Linked DNA regions of Homo sapiens: regions 1, 3, 4, 5, 6 and 7 are each linked to region 2. Evidence: promoter capture Hi-C in 16 types of primary human blood cells and fetal thymus (Javierre and others, 2016). All regions are on one chromosome and are shown on one strand. Each heading gives the region's core, a stretch centred on a gene start or on the middle of the fragment in contact. The rest is flanking DNA. Distances are from core to core; before and after follow the strand shown. Region 1 has its middle 3.0 kb from the start of NDUFAF6. Region 2 holds the start of RBM12B-AS1 (RBM12B antisense RNA 1). Region 3 overlaps CFAP418-AS1 (CFAP418 antisense RNA 1). Region 4 holds the start of TP53INP1 (tumor protein p53 inducible nuclear protein 1). Region 5 overlaps RUNX1T1 (RUNX1 partner transcriptional co-repressor 1). Region 6 holds the start of CCNE2 (cyclin E2). Region 7 overlaps PLEKHF2 (pleckstrin homology and FYVE domain containing 2).

Region 1 (2,700 bases), core at 199-2,698, 1.3 Mb after region 2:
TTGGCCTTCAGAACGATACACTAACACCTCCCAATGCCAGGCACTTGGCCAGGCACTGGAGATAAAAAGAGGAGTAAGAAAACATCTACCTTTGGCAGTCTGGGAAGAGGGCCATATAAGCAGATCACCACAGTAAGACCTGGCAAAGTGATCAAACATGAACACAAATTGTTATAGGATCAAAACTGGGGGAACAACTCTTTTTTTCTTGGATGGGGTTATGGTCAAGGAAAATTCAGGAAGGAAGAGGTGTTTAATTAGGTGTTTGGGGGATGAGTAGAGGTTCATGAAAGGGAAAAAGGGCATTAGAACTTTTGTGGTGACAAGGACAAACTTAGAGCTCTCCTCCTATAACCCCAAATCTCAGGAAAGCCTTGGGTTGCGGCTTACTTTGATTTAGGTCTTGAATCACACCATTTTTGTTGGGTTTGTCTTTCTACATGTCTTTTTGCCTTTGAAGTGATCCAGACAAGCTTAGCAGTGGGGTTTGTAAAAACAGTGTAATAAACATTGCCCATTTGCCAGGACTGTCCTCTGTGTAGCTCTCTTGGGAGTCTGTAGAGGCCGTAGGTGGCTGGTTAAAGGCTGGGGATTTGGGATTATCACCAAATGGCCTCCTTGAAGATACAGCACACAAGGACAATCCAGAAAGAGGGAACAGCATAATCCCACAATATTTTGTTTGCCAAATGGAAATCTCTTTAGTGACAAACATTTAACTTAGCACCAGGTGTGACCTTCAGTTATGCAATAGAATTGTGGATCAGCTAGGATGAAATTTCTTATTTCCCTAGAAGAATGTTTTGTCCAGAAACACTATCCCAAGGCAACAGACTATATTTCCAACTCTGTGAGCCTTTTCCCTTCTTGGCACGTGCTACTGGTTGCTAGACGAATCAGGAGGCAGTATGTGCATAGAACAGCTCCTCACAAGTCACTGTCATTCTAAGAAAAAAACTCAGTATGTGTCCTTTTGGCAGGAAGTCAGAAACATGTTCTCTGGACCATTAAGGGACAGCATCTTTTGTTATAAATGTGTTATATTTGTTCTTTGACCTTTATCTATATCCTTTATAATAAACCAGTAAATATATATAAGTGTTTCCCTGATATCTGGGAGCCATCATAGCAAATTATCAAACCTGAGGAGGAAGGTCCTGAAAATCCTTGATTTGTAGCCAAGTCAAACAAAAGCATGGGTAACCTAAGGACTCACTAATTGCTACTGGTGTCCAAAGTAGGGGGCAGCCTTGTGAGACTGAACTCTGAACCTGTGGATTCTGTCCTAACTGTGTAGTCCTGAAAATGCTTGGTGTGGAAGATCTATACATGTAGTGTCAGAAGGGTTGCATAAGTATAGAAAAATTGTTTTTCCTTTTTAGTAGTGGTTCATCTAAAAAGTATTTAATTGTGGAAAATATAAGGATTGAATAAGGGCATAGTTAATGTGTTATATCTGTTGATAAGATGAACTATAATGCTGTAATTAAAAATGTTTATGAAGGTTCAATATAATAAAAATACCAGTTTTCCATACATTAGGTATAAATTTAACATAGCTGTAATGAAAATACCTTCAGAATTATTTTAATCGAATGGCTGATCCTAAAAGCCAAATGGGAAAATAAACAAGAATGGCCAGGAAGACCGGGGAAGAGAAAAAGAGTAATGAAGAAGGACTAGCCCTACTAGATATCTATGAAAACATATTTTAAAGACGCAATAGTTAAAAGAGTTTACTACTAGAACATTAATAGACAAATGGAACACTATAGACACAAAGTATATGCATGAGTTTATTCTGTGAAAAAGGAAGCATCTCAAATCAAAGGAGGAAAAGGTGGACTACTGAATAAATGATAGTAAGACAACTACTAGATATAAAGAAAAAAGTTAGATTCATACCTTCCTAATCTTTACCCCTCCAAAAAAAAAAAAAAGAAATGTAAAAAAGTGAAATCTACAAGTAGTACGAGAGAAACCAGAAGGACTAGAAGAAAGCAAGGGATTCTTTTAACACATTTAAAATGGGGAAGGCCTTTTTAAAGACTGCAAAATCCAGAAGCCATAAAAGTAAATATTGTAAATTTGACTAGATAAAAATATATTGCAAAATTTCTGCATGGCAAAGATTCCACAAGCAAAGACAAAACTAAAACCTAACTGAGGAAAATAATAATGATCTATATTACAGACAAAGGACTAATCCCCCTCACGTGTCATGGCAGCTAGCTTCCCACAGAGTAAGTGATGAGAGAGAGAGAGAGAGCACCCAAGATGAAATATGGAAGGTGCAGACCTTTTATAACCTAATCGCAGGAGTGACATTGGGTTTTTCTTTCGAATTTTTCTGATTTGTTTCCCTGTGGTGTCGATTTATCTTGTTTCTTGTCTTTTTCTTATAAACTTTAAAATTAGATTTAGAAGCTTAATTAACTTTATGTTAAGCCTTTTTGCCAAGAATATTTCATATGTAGTATATTGAATTTTATGTTTCCTTTTATTAGTGAAGCAACTTTCCCAGAAGCACCACAGTGGACTTGTTCTCAAGTCTAATTGGCCAGATCAGGGAAATATGCACTGTCCTGGACCAGTCACTGGTGATGAAAGGGTAACACCCACCACCGGGGTTCTGCTACTACACAGGATGAAGAAAGGTAATTTCAGAGAGTAAAAACCAAAGTTGCATGAATTGGTTAG
Region 2 (2,700 bases), core at 129-2,628:
GATTTACAGGTATGAGCCACTGCGCCTGGAGTAATTTACATGTCTTTAATGTACAAATAAATGTTGCGTTAATCCAGAATCCAGTACTTACACTTAAGTACCACTGTTCCCCAAAGTGGGGGTCTGAAGATACATTCACTGAGGTCTGTTTTCCTTTAAAAAAGGGTACGTAGATTAACCAGAAGCTAAACTAGCAAAGACATCAAATTACTTCACACATTCTACATCTGAAAAATATTAATCAGGTTTGCTATTAAAGTATTTGCACAGTAACAAAAAAAGAAAAAAAGCCTATTTTCTTCAACAAACCAATATCCATACTAACACTTCAACAAAAACTACAAATGGCTTCTGGAATACTTACTTTATCCATATTAAAGTCCCAAGACTCCCTCCTATGCAAATTGGCTTAGCTACTCTTTTTAAGATATTTTAGAAAGCACCATAAGCTATACATATTCTTGTCTCTCCTAAGCTTTTAAAAAAATTTTAACGGGATTTACCCTGGGAACATAAATTCATCTACAAGAGAAATTAGAGACGTTTCAAGGAATAATTATATCTCAAATTCAAAAAAACTCTAGTAATTTATCCTACCTCACTTAAAAACTATCTTTTAACCAAGTAGTTTCATGAGCACAAATCTCATGAATTCCAATTCAAGCAGACTATTTAGAAAGTTTATTCTCATTTGCCACAGTTAAACAAAACTAATGCTTAAACTTCTCTACCCTTGAGACAGTAGGGTAATGTACCATTTATGCCTCTACAATAACACACCTTGGAGACCAACTGTAAGAGACCAGCTCTCAAAATGGGCACTTCTGTGGTTCCAACATGCTATATTTCCTTAAGCAAATTCTCCAGAAATTCAACTCTTAACACACTAAATTACACAAAAGCAAAACACGAAAATTACCCTCAAGTAGTCTGCAATTAAAATTTTGCGTTTTTCTAGTTATGAATGCAAAAAGTATTTTTGTGCCTTTGTGTTCATTTGAAGACAATAATCTGTTAAAATTTCTATGAAAAGAAGAGTGGGTCCCTAAAAGATCACTTAAGTCAGTGAAATTTAAAGCGCATTTTAAATAACTGCTATTTTTATCCAACGATTCATCCCACTTAATCACCATTATAACTAAACAATACGTAACGTGCCTCTTCTAATCAAGACTTAAGGGGATACAGAGAGGGAAACGGGAGGGAGACAGAATTTAAATAAGTAATATCTCATCAGATCCATTTGATTTTTAACTAGCGAAGAAAAAGTCATTTTCCAGATATGGTGAGGGAGAGAATTTTTTTTAACTCTGCGACTACTTCGTAAAGCCCAAGGTCATGATGTAGCATATTCACACTCTAAACGTGAGTTTCCCCTGCAGAAAATAATCTACACCAACCCATAATTATTCTTTACGATGATCCACCTTTTATAATGTAGATGTTTAAAATAAAAACCAAAGGAATGACCAATGAGAGCCACAGTCCCTAGGAAGAACTGTAAATGAAGACGAATCCACATGGCACAGGATTTCTCCCAACATCCTCAAACGGGAATCATCCGAAGGCATCGATTCTACAGCCCAAAGCCTTTGTCCACAACTCCCAGGGGTCAGAGCTTCCTTCTTTCGCGCCAGGCCAAAGTTGCTACGTGGGATCCGATGTTGTCGCCAGACTTTCAGCCAAAATCAGCCTTCAAATTAACCTGGACCGCCCAACCTCCGTGCCTTTCCGTTACGCCGTCTCAAGGGCAAACATTCCACCCTAACTCGCCAGAGGGTGAACTGCCCCCAGATCTAACTGAAAACACTTGCCCTTCTCAAGCCTAACGAGCTGGGCCTGCAGCGCTTTTCTGCCACCACTGACTACGATGACATAGCAAAGAAAAAAATATACCTATGAAATCCTTCGAGATCTTCACTCTCAAGATCCCTGGGAAGCGCACATACACCACCACATGGAAGCTGACGGGAAAGGAAGAGTCGGTGTTTTAGCAAGAAAAGAGGGTGCCCTAACGGCAGGAGCTACGCTAGATACTGGCGCGGCCGCCGGTCCCGCCTTTCCCCGTTCTTCCGGCTTGGTCGCCCAGCCCTCCCCACCCCCGGCGCCCCGAGGGGAACTGCTTCGCACTTGGCAATAAACACACACCACTGCTGCCGAGTCGGACACACAAGGCCGGAGGCTGAGGGAACTCTTCGTCGCAGCAGCCTCCCCAAAACAGGTAGACCCTCAGTGAGCCCAGAAGAAGATGGCGCCCACTGCCCCTCCGGTCCGGACAAACGGACGTACGGTTTATCTGCCCATGCGCTCTGCAGGCGCAACCCACCACCAAGCTTGCGCACGCGCGCTGCCGCTCACCCGTTTCCCCTCGCTAGAGGAGGGGAGGCGGAGCCCCGGGGTTGGCTGAGCTTCTGCGCATGCCCAGATTCTGCCCAGCCCAGGGACCTCGACTTTCAACGGGAGAAATTCAGAGACACATTCAGGGCTCAGCCGGTAGATGTGCTGAGAATCTTCGGTAGACAACTGTCGAAGTACGGCGGACAAACTTTAAAGATTTCCAGAAGTTAAGGAAAGAGATGCAAAAGCAGAGAAAAGGCGACTTGTCTTTTCAGTGTTGCATTACTGTGTGGCGTAAAACATCTTCTAAAAAGCTCCTGTGGCCGGGCACGGTGGCTCACGTCTGTAATCCCAGCACTTTGG
Region 3 (2,700 bases), core at 201-2,700, 1.5 Mb after region 2:
ATAGTTAGTGGCCATCCAGTTTAACAGGCTTACATTAATGATTTGATTTTGCTCTTGAGAAGATGAAATCTGAGGGGATCTGTACCAATGTTGAAAGTATCTGTTAGCGGCCGGGCGCGGTGGCTCACGCCTGTAATCCCAGCACTTTGGGAGGCCGAGGCGGGCGGATCACGAGGTCAGGAGATGGAGACCATCCTGGCTAACACGGTGAAACCCCGTCTTTACTAAAAATACAAAAAATTAGCTGAGCGTGGTGGCGGGCGCCTGTACTGGCAGCTACTCGGGAGGTTGAGGCAGGAGAATGGCGTGAACCCGGGAGGCGGAGCTTGCAGTGAGCCAAGATCGCGCCACAGCACTCCAGCTTGGGCCACAGAGCGAGACTCCGTCTCAAAAAAAAAAAAAAAAAAAAAAAAGAATCTATTAGCGTGTAGAAGATTTGCAATGAGAGATGGTGAAAAAATAAAAGAGAAAATGTTTCTGGTTTTCTGTGTTTTGTTTTTTGTGTATATTAGAAAAAAATTAGTGTGTTCCCTCGCTCCCTCACTTCTACTCCCATTTTTCTGGTCTTTTGATTGGATAATTTATTCCGTTTACATTTTAAAATTTCATTTTATTGATTTTATTTACTTTCAGTAGCTTTTGGGGTACAAGCGGTTTTTGGTTACATGGATGAATTGTATAGTGGTGAAGTCTGAAATTTTAGTGCACCTGTCACCCGAGTAGTGTACATTATACCCAAAAGGTAGTGTTCTTTTTTTTTTTTTTTTTTTCCCAGACGGAGTTTTGCTCTTGCTGCCCAGGCTGGAGTGTGCAATGGTTTGATCTCTGCTCACCACAACCTCTGCTTCCTGGGTTCAAGTGATTCTCCTGCCTCAGCCTCCCAAGTAGCTGGGATTACAGGCATGTGCCACCATGCCGGGCTAATTTTGTATTTTTAGTAGAGACAGGGTTTCTCCATGCTGTTCAGGCTGGTCTCGAACTCCTGACCTCAGGTGATCCGCCCGCCTCAGCCTCCCAAAGTGCTGGGATTACAGGCGTGAGCCATCACACCCAGCCTCCAATAGATAGTGTTACTATCCTTTACCCCTCACCCGTCCTCCTCTCTTCTGAGTCTCCAGTGTCCATTATGCCACTCTGTATGCCTTTGTGTACCCATAAATTAACTCCTACTTACGAGTGAGAACATATGATACTTGGTTTTCCATTCCTGCCCACTCCCATTTTAATAAAATGGATGTATGGATCATCCAGAGTTTGGTATTTTGAGAATTTCATTTATGGCTCATTCAACTCTCCGGTGGGTCTCCTGACTTGAGTCATGTTCTCTTTCTGGTTTGCCACCGAGAGTGAAAGGTTGAGTTCAGAGTCTACAAGGAGAAATGCCATATGTCACATAAGAGTAACATATGTGTATGGCTGTGTGATAAACTGTAAAATTACAGTGCACTATTAAAATCTCCAGATGTCAGAAAGAAAGTTATACAGTTAAAAATTCAGTGGGCTCTAAACAATGGATGTGGATGTATAAGATGAAGGTAGTGTGGCTTTAGAAGATTCTACATTCAGGCAAATCCTATTAGATCATTTTTTTTTAAACCGGGCTATAAATTCCTTTGGTATAACTTTCTGTTTAACTAACAATCTTATTTCTTTCTCCATAATTGTTAACGTGTGTAGACAATGTCGTGAATCCTTGTCCCCTGTCTTTCCCAGTCATGGAAAGCATGCTGAGTGTCAGGTATTTCGTAAAGAATAGGCAAGTGCCTCCAGGTGATACAATTATTAACATGGTAAAGGAGACCGGGTGCCGTGGCTCATGCCTGTAATCCCAGTACTTTGGGAGGCCAAGGCGAGCGGATCACTTGAGCCCAGGAGTTTGAGACAGCCCAGGTGACATGGCAAAACGCTGTCTCTAACAAAAAAATTACAAAAATTAGCCAGGCATGGCAGCGCTGCACCTGTGGTCCCAGGTATGTGGTAGACTGAGGTGGGAGGATGGCTTGAGCTCAGGAGGTGGAGGCCGCAGTGAGCCGAGATAGTGCCACTGAACTTTAGCCTGGGTAAGAGAATGAGACTGTCTTAAAAACAAAACAAAAAACATGGTAAAGGGGCATGTCATGTATTATTACATTCACTTAGTATTCAAGGAAGTATTTTAGGTAAAAGGTGTCCAAATTAGGAAACCAAAGCACTGTTGGCTTTCCCAAGAATCTGAAGAACTCTCTGAGCCTGGTTTCTTGCTAGCACCATTATAAATGAGTTAGAGGTGGTGAGGCAGCTGGTTCTGCTGTCCCACGCCGCCTCAGGCCAACTGCTTCAGTTACAAGGTGTTCTGTAATCTCCCTGGCTGCTCACATAATGAATTGCAAGGCTTCTTTGAATTCCCATGTACTTAGGTTTAATTTTCCCTTCCCTGCATCTTTCCCCTGCATACTGCAGGCCTTTTAAACAAATACCCACTGGTGGGCGGTGACATTGGCATGAGGGGAGGCATCCTCCTGGATCAGTTGCAAGCCTCCTAGCAGCTGATGCCATGGAAGAATGGAGTAGCACCGAAGCAGCTCCAGTTCTTTTAAGTGGTCCCTGAATTAGGCCTCGATGTCATGTAGGTAAATTCAGCCCAGAACATGCAGAATCTTTATTGGAATTTGTACATTCATCTCTCACAGCTGTGGAGAGTTTAGACTAATCACAACTCTC
Region 4 (2,872 bases), core at 48-2,547, 1.2 Mb after region 2:
ATAGATGCCCAAGTCCTTGGGAGTCACAGTTGTAAAGAGGCTCTTCCTTAATCCACTCTGTATTGGAATTAACCTACTGAGCAGATATAATCAGAAAATACAAGCAAAACAGACTCTCCAGGTAAAATTCAGCTGCCACTTTGAAATACAAACACCATTTCCTTTTATTAATTGGCTGTGTGGCCTTGAGCAACTTAATCTCTCTGTGCCTCGGGTTTCCTATGTGTAAGATAGCCGGGCCTATTTCATATAAGGTTATTATGAGAATCAACTGGGGCGATAAAGCAAAGCCCCCAGCATAGTATATGGCACATACTCAGCGCTCAGTAAGCGTGAGCGATCCAAAGGATCTAAATGTTAAGGGCCAAGGAGAGCGCTCTTTCCACAGGTGCAAAGTCAGGTAGCGAAGACTGAGTTCAAGCCAGGTCAAGCAAGGGACAGGCCGCGGACAGGCGGGGGCCGGTGGCCGGGTCACGGAGCAGGTTCCCCATAGCCGCAGGGCCTCCGGAACTCGGAGGGCAGGCGCAGGGGACGGGATCGCAGGGCGGGGACAGAGCGCCGGGCCACAAGCCCAAGCGCCGCTGTCTTCGGAGATGCGTCCCGGGGGTGGCCGCGGGAGCCCCGACGCCGAGTCCCGAAGGGGCGGCCCCATCCAACGGCCGAGAGCAGGCGGAGGAGGAGGAGTGGAGGGGAGTGAGGAGGGGTGAGAGGAGGAGGTCCCGCCGCGGCCAAGAAAACAAGCCACGCTCGGGGGAGGAGGCAGAGACCAAACTCCCAACCGCCGCCCAGCGCCGGGGCCAGGCCGGGCCCTTGTCCGCGCCGCCGCCGCCTCTGTCAGCCTCTGTCCGCGCCCTGGGCCCCGGGGGCCGCCGAGGACCGACCCACTGGGTGGGCGGCCGGGCCCGGCGGCGGCGAGGGGAGGCAGCGAGGGGGCTCGGTGAACGCGCAACCGGCGCCCCGAAGGCAGGGCGCGCGGCCGGCCCCGCCGGGCTCAGGAGCGGGCAGCGCTGCGGCCCCAACCGGCAGCGAGGCGGCCCTGGACGGACGCCCGCCCGCCCCCCCCCGGCACTTACGTGGGCCCGGGCCGTGCGGGGCTGCGCGGGGAAGGGAGCGGCCGCCGGCTCGGCGGGGAAGGACGCGGGCGGGGCGGGACTGCTGAGGTAGCTGCGGTGGGGCCGGGCTGCGCTGCACCTCGTTCAGGTACCCAGACGGCAGGCGCGGGGCCGGCTCCAGCCCTCGGGTCGCTGCGCCCAGGCCGGCCAGTCCAAGTCCTTTTGTTGTTGTGCAGCGCTCGCAACAGCTGATCGGCCGCTCCGCTCGCCGTCGGGCCCCGCTGCCCCGCCCCGGGCCGCGCCAGGCCGGGCCCCACCAATCGGCGGTGCGGGGGCCCCGGGGCCGCCCTGCGAGAGGTTGTCACCAACGCACGTGACCTGGCGCCCGGCCGGCGGCGCGCTCAGCTCCGAAACAAGCCCGGGCAACAAAAACCGGGAGCTGAGCGTGAAGGCCTGGGCGAGCGGAAGGGTGGGAGAGAGGGGCTAGGCCGGGGAGGGAAGCGCTGGGGCCGGGGCCGGCTTTCCAGGAGCCGGCGGGAGCGGGGTGCGTAAGAGGCGGGCGAGGAAGAACCGGCGGGCAACGGGAAGGGCAGAGGTGGATCTCTCCCTCAGCGACCCCTCTCGCCGAGTGAAGGGTCGAGGGTTTGGGGCACAAAGGGCGCAGAACGTTTTTTCCTGTGAGAGGAACATTAAGACTCCTGGGAGGGCTGGGGCTAACGCCTCCGAGAGCCCCACCTGGTCAGCCTAGGGTTAGACGTGTAGCCAGGGTGCTGGGAGGGGGCCGCTGCTGGGCCCCAGATAGAGGGGTAGAGGCCGCTCAATCACGGAGCCAGGCCCCACCTGCTGTAGAAACCGCCACCGAGAGCCGGCCGGGCTTGCTGCACGCTCTGGATTCCGCCTGCCTATAGGCGAGGCACAAGGGACTGCGAGACCAGGCCTGAAGGCAGAGAGGTCAGCAGGCTCGGGGGCCTCTGCTCCAGCGGACAACAAGCGCACCGGGCGGGAACGGCCGCCTCCCCAGGCGCTGCAGCCTAGCTCTCATGTGACCCACGGAACTTAGCCCCTCTGTTCTGTTTGCATACCTGCAAATTGTGGGCATTCACGCCGGGACTGCCAACTCACCAGGTTATTTATAGTGACAAGAGAGTGAGACAGTGGGCTTGAAAGTGTTTTCCAGACCAAGGCTCTGTCCCACATATAGGTGGATTAACTGTCTGGCAAAGGCAGGTGAGTAACGTTGATGCCTATCAGCTCTCATGTGGATACTGTTTGGACTGGGATGTAGTTCTTTGACCTGGGGTGAGCTGTATAGCAACCCTGGAGGGATGCCTATCACACATTACAGTATCTGAAAGACACTCACATTCTGACCCTCACAATGTAGTCAGTCCATTTCCAACAATGCTGGTTTTAAAGGATGTAAATTGCAGTGCAGGGAGTTGTCAGACACCAAGGAGTAATGATCAAAATATGATGGTCATTGGACCTTATCTTGGGAGAAAGAGCTAAAACTGTGTTCTAGATAGTCTCACAGACTTGAACATGCTTTGGATTTTAGGTTTTTGCAAATCAGGCTTGTTCTAATATTTTCTCCCACATGCTATGGTAGGAGCCCCATGATCTCTTGTTTCTCCCTAGGAATCCATTGAAGAGGCCATCTCCACATTCAGAACCAAGGTATGATGACAATTACAAGGGGCTAATTTTTAAAAAGAAAAAGGCCTACCTTTTTCCAGTTTGATAAGGTTTATCATGGTTAAAGCAACATGTGAAATCATCATCTTGTTATGATAGAAAAATTCAATATGAAGTAGATCATT
Region 5 (2,837 bases), core at 50-2,549, 1.6 Mb before region 2:
CTACTTGATGGCAACAATTGTCATGTATAAGTCATAGTCAAAATAGATTTATATTTTCATAAATTTCTTTAACATAAAAATATGTTAAGTCCCTTCTGGTTTTTTTTTTCATATTCACTCTCTGTATGGTTCAAATTTCTTTGACTCAATGTCTGCCTAATGCTTAGTTTTGTTATTTAAAGACTATGCAAAATGTGTGAAAGGGTAAATTACACCAAGATAACAAATACTTAGTATTTCTCTGCCTTTGCTTGAAATACACATATTAATCTATATAAGTTATTGTCTATGCATGCACTTGAGTGTAAAATACATACATCTCACTTTGTATTGAACCCATTATCGCTTCTCGGCCTTTTGGCTAAGATCAAGTGTATTCCACCCACTAAAAGAAAACTGGAAACAAAAAGTCAGAGTCAGGCCCTATTTTTGAAGGGAACTTACACATTATTTTATGAGATATAGATTTAGCAGGTGCCTGGCTGTTTCAGTACCCGACTGGAAAAGAATGAATGTCACTCATGCAACAAACTGGTCACCTAAATAGTGACTGACCACTCACTGTAAATAACTCCAGGTAAAGGTAAATCTTGAAAATGGATATCCTTCTATATAAAATATGCAAGATCTATGGCTAGCATGCTTTTCATATTTTTAAACGTGCTCCACCTATTTCTCTGTAACATCCAATTCGGGGTAGAATTAAAGATGTTCCTAAGACATGCTATCTGCTAGTTTCTTAGCCAAAAGAGCTCTACCCTTTCTGAAAGATTCCAGGCTGTCCTTTTCCATTCTGTCTGGGTGATAAGGTAACCTGAAGGCAGAAATGACATACAGTAATATATGTGCCACTCTGGCCAGTTGGTCTGTGAATTTCAGTGTTTCATCATGCTCACTGAGGCAACAGCAAACCTGAAATGTCAATATGTTCAGTCAATGGAAGTAAAATAATGGGACTCTATTGTCTTACCCAATCGATCTGCTGCTGTCAACAAGGAAACATGCCCCCCTGGCTTTAAACAAATTTTAATTAGGCTTTTAGTTACTGGATCATATCTATCTATCTATGAAAACACCTATTTTGACAATGTGTAGAAGGCAAAACAACCATCTTTTCCACTTTTCTTCATTTTAAGAACCTTCTAAAGTTGATATTACAATGTTTCAAATACTTGTGAGTCAATAAGACATGTTTTCTCCTTTTTTTAAACTAGCTCCAACCAAAAGATTTCATGGTTCAAATCCAAAATACAAATCTACCTAACAGACTTGTAGTGATTTTTTTTTCTCCTCTAGGCTGAGTTGAGCCATACTATAAAGTCAACTAATTCCATATTAAAAGTAGGCTTCATTTGCTTTTCTTACTCATTCAAGTACCGTCAGCATCAATTTATCACGCATTTAAAACAAGTCACACAAAACCAAACATTAATGATCAATCCCAAAGCCTTTACCCTCTTTTCTCAGTTCATCAATCCTAAATGCAAGGGGTAAACGAAACTCCTGTTAAATCAGGGAGGTGCATGGTGCTGAGAAGGGTAGGGGGTTGTCGGGAGAGGAAATAAGACATTTTAAGTCATTCAAATTGCACCAAAGTTCTCTAGCCCTTCCTTCCACCAAAAGAGAGACAGTCTCACCTTAAAATAAAAATGAACTAATCAAGTTGTTAAGCAGCTTTGTCTCTCCCTTCTTCATCTAAAGGCTTCAGCGTCCAGTCAATAAATAATCTATTGTTCCCCCTTTATCGAGTCTCTTTAAACCTATTCAGACTGGCAAAACTAAACCCAATTAAAGATAAGGCCCTCCGGTATTCTCACCTCGGTGAGTCCTGTCTGGATAGCAGAGGTGATGGGAGATAGCGTCAAGGCCAGGGGTAGATGCCTCCTCCTCACCCCACACAACAAAAGGCAGATTTCTCTTTCTCACTCTGCTAATCTTTAAATGTAAATTCTCTCCGCCAGCTAAGAGGAGCGACAGATAACATGTTACATCTTCACTTCTCCTGGTCTTATCGACTTCTGAATCATTTGGAAAGGGAGAGAGGGAGAGAGAAAAGCCGCCTCCCCACGCCCCCCTTCCTCCTGGCCACCCCTCCTTCCTCCCTGCTCGCCTCCCTCCCCTGTTCACGGAGATTACCTTCTGGCAAAGGAGCGCGGGAGAGCGGCCGCGGCCGAGGCGGCACCCAGACCGCGGCTTTGTATTCATTAAACACACATTGGAGCTTATCAGAAGTAAAAGCCTTGTCAGGATGGCACATTGTGTGTGAGTGAGTGTGTGAGCGCAGGAGGGAGAGGAGAGAAGCCAACGTGCATCAGGGTGATTACAATATCAGCAGGGCCCAGATGGAGGCAGGAAAATAAACAGAGGGTGCGTGTGAGACGGAGCGGGAGAGGGAGGAAAAGTGGGAGAGAGAGAGAGAAGACAGAAAGGGACAGGCAGGAGGGAAGGAGAGACACAGGCAGGAGGGAAGGAGGGATGGAGGAGGGGGCGGGGGCTCAGACCCCAGGATGGGGCCAGAAAGTGGGGGAGAGCTACCCTAAGGCTATCTGGGAATGAGAGGCAGGCTAGAAGTCGCCTGCATGCCCAAATCTGCCCCTACCACCCAAAGAAGGGAGGAATCCAGCAAACTGTATTTCCCTGCTCCAGGGCTAGGCTGGAACATGTTCGAGATTCTGTCAAGGTCAGAGGAGGATCAAGAGCTCTCTTTTGGCAGAGCCTAAGGAGACAGTCGCCATCTCACCTCCATCCAAACAGCCACATTTTGCAAAACAAACCTACTGAGTCTATAGAGCAGTTAAGCTGCCTTCCAGACCAACCTCAAGTCGGAGTTCTTGTCC
Region 6 (2,925 bases), core at 183-2,682, 1.2 Mb after region 2:
TAGGGGCATTAAAAGTAAAAGTGTCAGAGGAATCTATCGCAAAGCAATAAACACATAATTCTATTCTTATTCATCTATCCTCCATTTTTCCCCCAAACCCACCCAGCCCAGTTCTGCATTACCCTAATTTCATACTGATGTTTCTTGGTGACCTCCTCTCTTCTTTTTTTGACATCCTGGAAAATAGAAAAGACCATTGGTAAACTAAAGTCCCAGCATGGAATTTCGTTCCTCCCTCTTTCTCCTTAAATCACCTGGGTAGTTTTCCTCTTCTTGGCCTGGATTATCTGGGCTTCTTGGGGGGATTCCGTCTGGCTGGGCTGGGGCTGCTGCTTAGCTTGTAAACGGCTACTGTAGTGAATTTTTAAAAAGGAAGTGTAATTAGTAAGTTAAAGGCAGCAACTAATTTGAAACATGTCTCTAAGACAGATAATGTTACCTTCGTCTTGACATTCTCTTCTTTCAGGTGTATAAAACCTCTGAAGGGGGGAGAGGAAAAGCCGCAGTCAAGTACATTGTCATTCACATTCTCCAAGTGCCAGTAAGACGCTGATTCGCAGGTGAAAGCTCAGTCCCTCCGAAGGGGGCCTGGGCCCTGTGACCCTGCCATCTTCTGTGCTATGTTAGCTAGCTCATGGTAATTCATTTTGGATACAAGCCTGCATTTCCTCAACTGAATGTACAGCTGGAACGCGAGTGTCCAAAAATTTACCAAGCACTCCTGACACCTTGAACGCGCAGGGAGGCACATCTTCCTCAAACGGGTTTTTCTGGGTCCTCCACCCTCTCCCCCGTACACCGGGAGTGGGGCTTGGGCAGCGCCCCCACGTCCCGCCTCCCTCCTGGACCAGCGGGGAGAGGGGGTTGTGGAGGCGAAATGCTGTGGAGAAGCCGGTTCCGCGCCAATTTGGAGAGCGGCGGTGGCGGGGAAGCAGGGGGCGGAGGAACCAAGACTGGTGTCACGGCCTCCAGTCTCCTTTCCCTCCTTCCCGGCCCTGCCGCCCTACCGCCGCTCGGAGGGGCGCCGGGACCCCAACTCCAGATGGGAAGCGGAGGGCGTGGGGGAGGGCAGGAAAAGGAGCTAAAGAAAGGGGAGACTGGGCTGGCTGGGAACTTTTCTCCCCATGGAGGGGACCCGGCCTCCCATCCTCTCTCCCACGGGATAGCTCCCCAAATGAGGGTGGGATAGAGAAGCCCCTAGAATGAGGGGCGGCTCTCCATGCCCAGCCGCTTCCCGGTCCCCTGCCAAGGTTCCTGACAGGGACGGAACGCGGGAACCCATGACCCCCAGTCGTCTAGTTCTCAGCCCTCCCGATTTTCCTCCCTGAGGCTCCCGCCTGTGGTAAGTGATCGGCCCAACTGGGCTTTCTTTCCTCCCACATCCCCCCTACGCGCAGCAACTCCTCACCGCCAGACCAGCTACCGCTCGGCTCAGCTGGCGCCGGCGCCAACCCAATATATAGGCCGGGCCGGTCCCGCCCCGCACGCATGCGCCTCAGACTGACACCTCCGGACAGCGCGCTCCCCTCTCCCGCCCGTCCGCCCGCGTGCCCGCGCGCCGCGCCCTGCTCTCAGTGCGCGCCCGCCACCCGGAGCGGCCGTGGGGTCCACTCTACCGGGCCTTCTGCCCGCGTCCACCGCGCTCCACGGCGCGGCCGGCGGCGGTAGGGAAACTCTCAGGGGCTCCTTCTCCGCGGCTGTTCTCCCCGCCGCCTGGCTCGCGCATCTCCCGCCAGTTTGCTTTTGCTTCCTCCCACTGCAACTCCTGGATTTCGGGGGTGTCAGCCTGCGGCTCAGCCCGGGCGCATAACAGGGGGACACGACTCGGGCGACCATAGGGTGGCTGGGAAGTGACCGTCCAGGGGCGCGCCCTAGCTGTCCCGCCAAGGCCTCAGGGAACCCAGGTCTTTCCTGAGCGACGCGGGGACCCGAGGGCCCGCCCCTCGGGGAGGAGCAAAGCGTTGGCTGAAGAGCTGGCCAATGGGAGGCACGGGCGGCAGCACAACGTGGAGTGGCTGCAGAATGTAAACACCACTCAGCCACGCGCCTGGCCAAGTGCGGCTCTGCTCTCCCCAGTCCCGGTCCGCGACCACCCGGAGCCCGCTCCGCCGGCCTTGCGCGGCGCGCCCAGGGAAGGCATTTCCAGCCCGCCCACCCAGGTATGTATCAACCCTGCTTTCCGGCTCCCTGCTCCCCCTACCGGGTTTCCCTCCCCATGGGTCGGTCGCTCCCCCAACCCGCCGCTCTGCCCCTGCAGTGGCCTCCAGCTGCCACCCCGCAGTCCCCGCGCAGGAAACGCTCGCGCCACGCCGCGCCCTCCCTTGCTTCCTCTCTTCTCCACCTCCAATTCCGGGATCCCAGAGGGTAAAACCCCTCTCCGGAGCGGGGCCCGGGAACGGCATTCCTCCTCCCCCTGAGCGCGGTGGTCCCCGGGGACCTGGCCGGGTGGGAAGAAAGATCGCCACCACGTGCAGGCCCCGGGCCCGCCTGCCGCGCCCCGCCCCGCCGCCGCCGCCAGCGCGCCCTGCGGAGCCCGCGCGAGCCGGCAGCGCGGGAGGGCGCCGTTCGCGCCCGAGCGCTGTTGGGAGGAGGGGGGCCCGACGCTCTTCCTTTATCCTTCCCCGGGTGTTTAAACTTAGGGGTCCCTTCGCTGCCTCTATGAATGCCCCCACAACTGGCGCACCCCAAAACTGCACATCGTCAAGTCAGACTTGCGGCGGGTATTCCGCAAACAGGTTTTGCGGCGGGAGCAGCGAGGCGGGGAACAGCTCCGGGAACAAAGATCCCCCGGGTGGAGGAGCAGTGCGAAGGCGTCTCGGAACCCGCGGTAGCTCGGGCGGGCCGCGTCTGCCCAGGCCCTGAGCGAGCCGGACGGCGAGCGGGCCGCGCCGGGGAGACGGAGCCTCGCGGGCGGGAGCCCTTCCC
Region 7 (2,860 bases), core at 290-2,789, 1.4 Mb after region 2:
GAGGAAAGTGAAGTGCATAGAGGTTAAGTAAGGGTTACATTCATTTCTGGCCAGAATGGCCACATTTGGAACTACACTTCACTAACTCCGGTGACCCCCACTGCTACTCTACAACAGCAGCCTGCATGTTGTGACCATGTTACTTGTCATCATTCAGAACCACTCTACCTCAGGTCTTAAACCCTGTGGCCAGATGGCGATGCAAGGGTCTGTTTTCTCTTTCTCTTTTCTGTCATAACTGGTTAAGCAGCTTTTTGTCCTTATTGTCACCTCCAGTCCCTCCTAGGCCATTAGTTGTCTTCCCTCTTTTCAACCTTGAACTCTGTAGTTCATGTTCTAACCATGAACTCACTAGACCACATAGTCCCTCCTCTCCTTGACCTTTGCTGGGTGTAACTGGTCAGTTTTCTACCTTTGTCCCTGCCCTACACTCTCCCCCAAAGTCACGCTTTTGGTGATCATTACATACTTGTTTTCTACCTGCTTTATACTAGTTACTTTCTAATCCTTTTCTTATCCCCAAGTTGACTTATTTTCTCTGTTGCTTTTTCACTCCAGTCAGGTTGCTAACCCCAGTCTCGAAACATGTTGAGCAGATGACCTTACTTCCTTCTAAAATGATTAAGATTTTATGATGTGAATTTTCTATTTTCTTCTTTGCACCAACTTCTTCATCTTCCCCCCCCCCCCGCCCCTTTTTCAGAAGTGGAACTATTTTTAATTCTTTGTACTTGTTTCATTTAAACAACAGTTGGGGAAAAAGAAAGATTTTTGTGTTCTTTGCTCACATTTTTATTACTTGTACATATAACTGTATTTTACTTTTTATACTTATATTTTTCTACACATTCTTCTTTGTATTTTCTTCCCAAACTAAAAGGCTTTGTCTATGAGAGAATGTGTTCATTATAAGATAATTAGGCGTATCAAAATATTATTAGTCTAGTGCTTAGAGATAACCACTACTGACTTTTTGGTGCATATCAGCCACTTTTAAATAACAAGTAGGCTTATACTATATGTGCTATTTAGAAACTTTTATTTAATAAAATGCTTTAACAATATTTCACATTAAATATTGTGTTTTCTAAAAAACTGCCTAAAAATTAATGGATGTGCCATAATTTATTTAGTCTCCTATTGTTAAATATTTAGGTTGTTTCCAGCTTTTCTATATTATAGACAAAGCTACAGTGAACTTCATGTGAACAACTTTGTACACTTTTAATTTTTGTATGTATTATTGGAAATAGAATTGTTGTATAAACTTTCTAAAGCATTTCTATTGCCAAAATGGCATTTAGAAAAGTTGTTCCAGTGTATATACAGTATTGTCAAGAATATAAGGGTCCATTTTTACCACATCTTAGGTGAGTAATATATGAATATCATTTTAATTTTTATTTGATTGGGACTGAGTGTCATTTTTTAAATTTACTGGTCATTTTCATTTTTTTAAAATTGACATTTGTTTCTTATTTTTCTGTTGGGATATTTTCCTCTTTTCTTGTGGATTTACAGGAGCCCTTTGCATATTACAAATGTTGGCCGGGTGCGGTGGCTCACACCTGTAATCCCAGCCCTTTGTGAGGCCAAGATGGGCAGGTCAGATTGCTCGAGTCCAGGAGTTTGAGACCAGCCTGGGCAACATGGCAAAACCCCGTCTCTACAAAATACACAAAAATTAGTTGGGCAGGGTGGCATGCCTATAGTCCCAACTACTCAGGAGGCTGAGGTGGGAGGATCGCTTGAGACTGGGAGGTAGAGGTTGCAGTGAGTTGAGATTGTGCCACTGCACTCCAGCCTGGGTGACAAAGCAAGACCCTGTCCTGTCAATCAATCAATAAATGTTGACCCTTTGCCATATTACTTTAATGTTCTTCCCCCAATTATGAAGTTTTAAAAGTTTAGGTAGTAAATTTTTTCTTTTATGATGGCTTTTTGTGATACATTTAACTATTCCTCAGCTAGAAATTTAGGTTTTATTTTTCACTATTAGAGTTAATGCCAGAGGGAAAACTTTTTATGTGCCACACCCCCTCCACCCCCTTTCTCCAGTTTATTTCTCCAGGTTAAATTTTTGTGGGTAAAAATTTCAGATATTTTATTGTTACACATTGCCATTAGTCCTTGATTTTTTTTTTTTTTTCCCATGTGTCCCACTGCTGATTGTGACCTTTTGGCAGGTTATTTAGTCTCTGAGAGTTGTGAAACATATGAGAGCAGGTTGAAAAGGTGCTTTGTGCTCCTTTGTGTCCCGTTCTTTTTTCCCTTAAATTTTCCTCCTGCTTTCTAAACTAGGGGTTCCCCAAAGTTTAGTCCTCTGCTCTCGTTTTTCTTCCAGCATCAGCCAGCATCTCTAGGTGGGTGACTACCAAATCTCTCTGTCCTGGAGCTCCCTGCCCATCCTGGCATCTCTGTCCCGCAGATGTGTTTGTCTTGTGGATGCCCTGGAGGACTTCAAGATAAACATGTCCCAAACTGATTTCTTCTCTCTCCTAAAACAAAGCTAGCATCTGCCCAGTGGCTTACCCTTAAGCCTTTGAAGTCATCTTACAGTCCTTTTTCATCCATGTGTTCAGTTATTTCCTAAATCCTATCTGCTATGCCTCAGTTATCTGCCAATTATTGTGGTTCAGGCTTTTCTTACCTTTCATTTAGAGATTGTTGTAATCCTCATATGACTGGTTTCTTTGTCTTCAGTCTTGCTTCTTCATATTCTCTTCAGTCCATCCCGTGTACTGCTTCTGTGTCTGATTAATATTTTCCTATTTAAAAACCTTTGTCTTCCCATGGCCTGTGTAATAAAGTGTAAACTCTTCTATCTGATGGTTGCTTTCTTTTGCAGTTTGTCTCATCC

The links. Contacts are between HindIII fragments. The CHiCAGO score rates a contact against its expected background, and 5 or more counts as called.
Region 1: a fragment that was not itself captured here is called in contact with the fragment with the promoter of RBM12B-AS1 in region 2 in 1 of 17 cell types (total CD8 T cells); the score reaches 6.5 in total CD8 T cells.
Region 3: a contact is called between a fragment that was not itself captured here and the fragment with the promoter of RBM12B-AS1 in region 2, in 5 of 17 cell types (non-activated CD4 T cells, naive CD4 T cells, total CD8 T cells and 2 more). The highest score is 9.8, in non-activated CD4 T cells.
Region 4: the fragment with the promoter of TP53INP1 here is called in contact with the fragment with the promoter of RBM12B-AS1 in region 2 in 4 of 17 cell types (naive CD4 T cells, total CD8 T cells, non-activated CD4 T cells and 1 more); the score reaches 7.5 in naive CD4 T cells.
Region 5: a contact is called between a fragment that was not itself captured here and the fragment with the promoter of RBM12B-AS1 in region 2, in 1 of 17 cell types (erythroblasts). The highest score is 6.8, in erythroblasts.
Region 6: a contact is called between the fragment with the promoter of CCNE2 here and the fragment with the promoter of RBM12B-AS1 in region 2, in 8 of 17 cell types (fetal thymus, total CD4 T cells, total B cells and 5 more). The highest score is 11.7, in fetal thymus.
Region 7: a contact is called between a fragment that was not itself captured here and the fragment with the promoter of RBM12B-AS1 in region 2, in 1 of 17 cell types (naive CD8 T cells). The highest score is 6.5, in naive CD8 T cells.

The regions. Positions count from the first base shown.
Region 1 is chr8:95,020,663-95,023,362 of GRCh38, forward strand. It overlaps a transcript of NDUFAF6 not described here. Among named protein-coding and RNA genes, the nearest start is that of NDUFAF6, 3.0 kb to the right of the region's middle. The HindIII fragment of the contact is 1,954 bases long and covers 472-2,425 here.
Region 2 is chr8:93,738,733-93,741,432 of GRCh38, forward strand. It overlaps RBM12B-AS1 (RBM12B antisense RNA 1), which reads left to right and starts at 1,379. Exons shown (of 1, transcript NR_027259.1): 1 at 1,379-2,087. RBM12B (RNA binding motif protein 12B) reads right to left here and starts at 2,277. Exons shown (of 4, transcript NM_001377960.1): 1 at 2,149-2,277; 2 at 1,897-1,964. It overlaps RBM12B-DT (RBM12B divergent transcript), which reads left to right and starts at 2,351. Exons shown (of 2, transcript NR_183450.1): 1 at 2,351-2,700. RefSeq lists an enhancer at 2,184-2,303. The HindIII fragment of the contact is 1,858 bases long and covers 474-2,331 here.
Region 3 is chr8:95,271,407-95,274,106 of GRCh38, forward strand. All of the region lies in intron 1 of CFAP418-AS1 (CFAP418 antisense RNA 1), which reads left to right. Among named protein-coding and RNA genes, the nearest start is that of TRS-AGA2-5, 3.0 kb to the left of the region's middle. The HindIII fragment of the contact is 4,275 bases long and covers 1-2,700 here.
Region 4 is chr8:94,948,081-94,950,952 of GRCh38, forward strand. It overlaps TP53INP1 (tumor protein p53 inducible nuclear protein 1), which reads right to left and starts at 1,298. Exons shown (of 4, transcript NM_033285.4): 1 at 1,074-1,298. It also overlaps a transcript of NDUFAF6 not described here. RefSeq lists enhancers at 639-1,267, 1,268-1,897, 1,764-1,933, 2,104-2,153 and silencers at 714-853, 1,074-1,453, 1,534-1,643. The HindIII fragment of the contact is 4,012 bases long and covers 1-2,872 here.
Region 5 is chr8:92,093,211-92,096,047 of GRCh38, forward strand. All of the region lies in intron 1 of RUNX1T1 (RUNX1 partner transcriptional co-repressor 1), which reads right to left. Among named protein-coding and RNA genes, the nearest start is that of RUNX1T1, 8.8 kb to the right of the region's middle. The HindIII fragment of the contact is 4,219 bases long and covers 1-2,837 here.
Region 6 is chr8:94,893,769-94,896,693 of GRCh38, forward strand. It overlaps CCNE2 (cyclin E2), which reads right to left and starts at 1,433. Exons shown (of 12, transcript NM_057749.3): 1 at 1,409-1,433; 2 at 440-479; 3 at 255-351; 4 at 123-176. The coding sequence starts at 453. It also overlaps a transcript of NDUFAF6 not described here. RefSeq lists an enhancer at 245-806 and silencers at 1,423-1,642, 2,023-2,122, 2,253-2,302, 2,473-2,522, 2,803-2,925. The HindIII fragment of the contact is 5,265 bases long and covers 1-2,925 here.
Region 7 is chr8:95,137,676-95,140,535 of GRCh38, forward strand. All of the region lies in intron 1 of PLEKHF2 (pleckstrin homology and FYVE domain containing 2), which reads left to right. Among named protein-coding and RNA genes, the nearest start is that of PLEKHF2, 5.3 kb to the left of the region's middle. RefSeq lists an enhancer at 184-333. The HindIII fragment of the contact is 4,112 bases long and covers 1-2,860 here.